Linked DNA regions of Homo sapiens: region 1 is linked to region 2. Evidence: promoter capture Hi-C in 16 types of primary human blood cells and fetal thymus (Javierre and others, 2016). All regions are on one chromosome and are shown on one strand. Each heading gives the region's core, a stretch centred on a gene start or on the middle of the fragment in contact. The rest is flanking DNA. Distances are from core to core; before and after follow the strand shown. Region 1 has its middle 91 kb from the start of RUNX1T1. Region 2 holds the start of LINC02906 (long intergenic non-protein coding RNA 2906).

What was found. The method cuts DNA at HindIII sites, captures the fragments that hold promoters and counts their contacts. A CHiCAGO score of 5 or more calls a contact.
Region 1: a contact is called between a fragment that was not itself captured here and the fragment with the promoter of LINC02906 in region 2, in 1 of 17 cell types (M1 macrophages). The highest score is 7.2, in M1 macrophages.

What each region holds. Positions count from the first base shown.
Region 1 is chr8:92,192,917-92,196,216 of GRCh38, reverse strand. No RefSeq gene overlaps it. Among named protein-coding and RNA genes, the nearest start is that of RUNX1T1, 91 kb to the right of the region's middle. The HindIII fragment of the contact is 2,583 bases long and covers 459-3,041 here.
Region 2 is chr8:93,165,322-93,168,565 of GRCh38, reverse strand. It overlaps LINC02906 (long intergenic non-protein coding RNA 2906), which reads left to right and starts at 1,716. Exons shown (of 3, transcript NR_161372.1): 1 at 1,716-1,835. LOC105375644 (a long non-coding RNA gene) reads right to left here. Exons shown (of 5, transcript XR_928417.1): 4 at 1,555-1,676. The HindIII fragment of the contact is 1,956 bases long and covers 1,471-3,244 here.

The DNA of each region.
Region 1 (3,300 bases), core at 501-3,000, 970 kb after region 2:
TCTGCCTAGATTACTAGGTCTGTATAAAGCAGAGTTCAAAGCCTGGATCCACTAACTGTTACTCTCACAAGACCATGACTAGGCAATGTGACTAGAGAATCGCCTTTACTGAGACAAAGATTTCCAAAATGTACTTTAAGGAAACATTTATTGGATATATGCAATTTTGCTGTTGAGACAATCCTAAGAACAGTATATGCCAATATAATTTTCTCTGTGTATCCTGATATAGAGATGACTTTTGTCTTCAGTGAAAATAAAAATTCTATACACAAAAAGGTCTTTGTTGTCCACCACCATGTCTTATGTAAATGTATTGATCAGCACTTTTATAAAATGACAATTGATATTCTTACTAATGGCCCTAAGGTTCTGAATCACTGAATCATTTCAGATTCAGTAATGTTAGGGCTATTTAGAATTATTCTGGTTATTTGATTTTTTTACACTGCTAAGCTTTAATGTACCTAATAGGAGAAACAGTTAAAAAATTAAAAGTAGTTGCTTTTGGGAGAGCAACCAAGGTGGTGGTGGGTAGAAAAGAGAATACTTGTTTTTCATTATAAGCCTTTAAATACCATTTTACTATTAACCATTTTGCATATATTAAATTTGATTTTACTACTAAATTAATAATTATTATATATTAAACTAAATCGATGTCTCAAAATTGTAGCATGTAAAACATCATATTTTGACCTTCCCAATTGCCTTGTGGGGCAGACATGACACAACTTTTGACAGTTCTCTATTAAATATTATGTGATAAACATAATTTTTTCCTGGAAAACAGTGAAGAATGGAGAAAAAATAATTAAACCAAAACCTAATGCTTTAGAAAGACCAAAAATATTATAAACTTATAGCCAGACATACAGAAAAAAGTTTCAGGAATGAAAAGGGGAATATAACTACAGCCCTTATGAATGTTTAAAAGATAATAAAGAAATACTACCAACAACTTTGGGCCCACAGATTGGACACCTTGGATGAATGGACAAATTCCTCTAATGATACTAATTACCTAAGCTCACTAAAGAGAAAATAAATACAAAACCTACAGAACCATATATTTATTACAGAAATATAATTTTTCACTTAATATCTTGCCATAGAGAAAATTTAAGGTTCAGAAAGAGGTTCTATAACTATTAGATGAGTGCAAACATATTAATAATTGTGGGTTTTGCATTGCTGAAATTTGCCATTTGATATTGGAATACACTCTTAAATAGATGTGGTTATGTTATACATCATTTTAATGGGTATCTCTCTATTTATTTATTTTTGCTAATAACTTATTGTTTGCTGTTTAATTTGTGTTTATTTTAGACTATGGAAATTAGAGAAAAAGCAAATTCGAACAGTTTTCTTATTTGAGTTCAAAATGGGTCGTAAAGCAGCGGAGACAACTCGCAATATCAACAACGCGTTTGGCCCAGGAACCGCTAATAAACATACAGTGCAGTGGTGGGTCAAGTTTTGCAAAGGAGCTAGGAGCCTTGAAGATGAGGAGCGCAGTGTCTGGCCATCAGAAGTTGATAACGACTAATCGAGAGCAATCATTGAAGCCGAAATTGGAAAGGTGGAAAAGCTCCATAAGTGGGTGTCTCATGAGCTGATCGAAAATCAAAAAACTTCGTCGTTTTTAAGTTTCGTCTTCTCCTCTTCTACGCAACAATATGAACCATTTCTCTATTGGATTGTGACATATGATAAAAAAGGAGATTTTCTATGACAACCAGCGATGACCAGCTCAGTGGTTGGACCAAGAAGAATCTTCAAAGCACTTCCCAAAGCCAAACTTGCACCAAAAAAAGGTCATAGTGACTGTTTGGTGGTCTGCTGCCAGTCTGACCCGCTACAGCTTTCTGAATCCCAGCAAAACCATTACATCTGAGAAGCATGAAGCATGCTCAGCAAATCGATGAGATGCACCGAAAATTGCAATGCCTGAAGCCAGAATTGGTCAACAGAAAGGGCCCAATTCTCCACAACAACACCTAACCGCACGTTGCCCAACCAACGCTTCAAATTTGGCTACGAAATCTTGCCTCATCTGCCATATTTACCTAACCTTTGGCTGCCTACTACCGCTTCAAGCACCTCCACAACATTTTGCAGGGAAAACACTTCCACAACCAGCATAATGCAGAAAATGCTTACCAAGAGTTCATTGAACCTCAAAGTATGGATTTTTACTCTACAGGATTAAACACACATTTCTCAAAAATGTGTTGATTGTAATGGTTCCTATTTTGATTGATAAAGATGTGTTTGAGCCTAGTTATAATGATTTAAAATTAATGGTCCAAAACTGCAATTACTTTTGCACCAACCTAATAAAAGCACGCATTTAAAAATAATAATAGGCTGGGCGCAGTGGCTCACGCCTGTAATCCCAGCACTTTCGGAGGCCGAGGAGGGTGGATCATGAGGTCAGGAGTTCAAGGCCAGCATGAACAACAGGGTGAAATCCTGTCTCTACTAAAAATACAAAAATTAGCCGGGCATGGTGCTGTGTGCCTGTAATCCCAACTACTCAGGAGGCTGAGGCAGAAGAATCACTTGAACCCGGGAGGCGGAGGTTGCAGTGAGCCGAGATGGCGCCACTGCACTCCAGCCTGGGTGACAGAGCAAGACTCAGTCTCAAATAATAATAATAATAATAATACCAATTCTACACAAACTTTTTCAGAAAACAAAGTATACTAAAAGAAGTACATTTAATTATATGTAAATTTCCTGGTGGAATAATGGAAATGAAACTTACTAAACCAAGGTCAGCAAACCTGGCCTTTAGTCCCTGCTTCCTTATTCAGTAGCCAATTGTTTGACTTGAGCAAGTCATTTAAACTCAAATTTTACTTCATCTATGAAATGAGGACTAATTTTACCTGTTCTACTGATATCACAAGATTTTATATATCAAACTAGATAATATGGAACAATTTGAACATCCATATGCAATGGATCTTTTCCAGCTATGATAATAAGCATTTATTTTAATACCTATTCATAATTTGTTACAAAAACAAGCTTCAAGCATGACTGTTCTCTCATCTTATGTAGAAATTCATTGAAAATAATGTAAGATTGCTTGTGGTTTTATTCACATCATCTCAAGTTTGATCTTGTACAAGACACTGCTGATGTCATTGATAGTCATAACATTTATTATGTCCTGAATTTAAAAAGCAATCACAATATTTTACAAAAATAACTACTTTATTATAATACATTTATAATAATCATTTATGTATAATTTGGGGACTTTTATAATTACTTAACATTATGACA
Region 2 (3,244 bases), core at 467-2,966:
GAATATTTAACCTGAGAGAGAGAGGGAGAGACAATCAACATGACTGCAAAAACAACAAATGGGACAGTTGCCTGGATCAGCCCCCTCCTGAATACTGGCTCCTAATTCTGTAGTATGCCAGTGGCATTAGGAACACAGGCTTATATTTGCTCTTTCCATGAAGTAATTGCTGGTTCTGTTTATCTCCTTCTGCTTCCTGACACATAATGATTAGAGGTGCAAGCACTGGTGCAAGCATTCTGGGTTGGAATCCAGATGTCATCTACTAGCTAGTTTGGATTAGATACTAACTTTTTTAAACCTCAGCTGTCTCATTAGCAATTTGGGGATCATCATAGCACCTAAATGAAGGGATTATCCTGAGGATTTAAATGAATAATGTGTATAACTCATTTAGCACTGTGTCTGCATAGTAAACTCTGACAGATTAGATATTATTATTATTATCAGTATTAACCTTTCACTTTTTAAAATTTCTTCTTACATTCTCTTTCTCCCTAATTTATTTAGAATAGAGCATCATCTATTTTGATTCTCATCTATCCACTTTCCCTATTCTCACCCTCCTTTCCATCATGCTACAGACCAAAGTAGATGGTGGCAGAGTGCCTGGGTACGTTTATGATTTCCAAGAGTGCTCTTAAAAGCTAACATGCAAATTGAAGAGAGGTAATAGCTTGATCTAAAATGAGAAAGACTTGTGTTCTCACATATTAGACAAAAGCCTTAAAACTTCTCTAGTATCTAGCAAAATAGTCTGTATTTAGATCTGGTATTAAATAAAATATTTTTGACCAGGATGGTGAGAAAAAGTCTGTTCACTTCACATACAGGTCTAGCATACAATGTAATTACAAATAACCTCCCACAGGAGTGGCTGCAAAGGTGGCTCTGTGCAATTAATGGTAATGCTGTGTGTCATTTATTACCTGTGTTATTTAATCTTTAGTCTTCAATTTGTGAACTTCCTTTAGTTATGAAATTTCATGACTAAATAAAAAGAGCTTTGGTGAGGTGGGCATACCAATTTAAAAGTTCTTTTTGTATTATCAGTTTATTGAGTTATATACATAGAATTACACCGATAAATGAGTACACTAACATATTACAGAGTGATAAAGACTAAAAGAACACATTTACATAAAGTTCCTAGCACAAAGTAGGTCCTCAAAAAATGATGAATTCTTCTGAGATCAGATGAGAGTGTTGACCTGGAGGTATAAACTGAGAAAGGAAAGGAAGAAACATCAGGAACCTACTTCTTAACTCCTTAGAATATCCTATTTCCTGACCCAGAGGTGGAGAATGGCCTCAAGCTGGAGACAAAAAAGACCCTGATGTTGGGCTGTGGACCAAATATCCCACTTTACTCAAGATACCATTTCCAAGTCACATACTGTGGTAATTAACGCTATGTTAGTGACACTTCTGTAATGGGTTACAGATTGTTGCTGTGGTGTATACAAAGCTTATTGGATAAATGTCTTTAGGAAAGGAAAAGACATTAGTCTCTTAGTGATCAATAGGATAATAAATTGTGCTTTGTTTCTTTACCTGGATTTCATGTTTATCTTTAGAATAAATGTTAGCTTGCTCACTGCTTCTGTGGTTTCGAGGCTTGCAGTGTTGTGAAACACATAATCTTTTTCTTCACAGTTAGCAAATCCTTAGCTTCTCTGCTGGACAAATAGTCATGTGAGTAGAGAGAACATAAAATCAAAGCAACAAGAAGCTAGGGCAGAGGATTTAGAGGGCAAGCAAGCATGGGCCAGGACTTTGACAGCATTCATCCAGCAGCATGCGAACTCCAAAGAGAACCCGATCTCCAAAGACAAGTAAGTATCCATTTTCTACCCACCAAAAACACCCACATTTTCCCCTCCAAGATGCTCAGGACTCTGTGACTTATTTTGGAGGAATTGTCCCTTTATCACATTGTCAATATTCATAAAATGGCAGGTTTCTGACTACCCAGTACTTAAGAGCAAATACAAGTAACTTTTTAAAATAATAGCAACTTAACTATGTTATCCATTCAGCTCTAGTTCAGATGTAATCAGGACTTAAGATTCTGTAAGAGCCCATGTGGAAATGTTTGTCATTAGCAAGGGTATAAAAGGAAGAGAGGAGAGTTTTGTTGTTTCTTTTCCTCTTTGCCTTCTTTTATCAGAGTAATTGAAACAATCAGCTTCCTGACATCCTAAAAGATAATGATTCAGCCATAAAGAATGGGAAGAGAGGGCGGGGTGCAGTAGGTCACGCCTGTAATCCTAGCACTTTGGGAGGCTGAGGCGGGCGGATCACGAGGTCAGGAGATCGAGACCATCCTGGCTAACACGGTGAAACCCTGTCTCTACTAAAAGTACAAAAAATTAGCTGGGCGTGGTGGCGGGCGCCTGTAGTCCCAGCTACTCGGGACGCTGAGGCAGGAGAATGGTGTGAACCTGGGAGACGGAGCTTGCAGTGAGACGAGATTGCACCACCGCACTCCAGCCTGGGCGACAGGGCAAGACTCCATCTCCAAAAAAAAAAAAAAAAAAAAAATGAAAGAAGGAATGGGAAAAGAGAATGTAAAATACACCTTTATAGCTTTTTCTTTTGATTTTCCTCTCTACTGACCCATTCTGAAAGAAGGAGTTATCTATTACATTCTTTGCCCCACTTTGGTTAGCTGGCAGAAATAGAGAGATTTCTCTCCTTTTCCCTTTTGCCCCCTAGTAAATAAAATCTGTCCAACATTGATTGTAAATGTAGACAATCATCAACAGATTCTTTGAAATCAAAGTTAAAATTAAACATACTCAAGTGTAGCCAGTAGTCCTTCCAGACGAGAATGTAACATGGAGGCATGGACATTATTTAACAAATATTTATGATCTTCCTACTGTGTGCCAGGCACTCTGCTAGCATCTTGAATCAGAATGGAGGTATTCAGAAGGAACAATTTCAAACCAAAGAGGAGGACCAATTGCAAGATGATTTTAATTTTCCTCACAAATGTTATAAAGAGTATGTCTTTTTTAGTAACCTTCCACACAAATGGGTGTGTTGATGAACAAATGCAGATAAGATGTGCATGGCTTTCACTGAGTTGCATTTATATGCCTCATTATTTCTACATAAATATGCCCAGCCTGGCTTTTGTTCACTGCCATTTAGAGTGATGGTGATTAAAGTAAATACAAAAGTACAAATAAGAATGCTTTAAAACAATGGTGTAATCATTACTAATTCATTTTATATT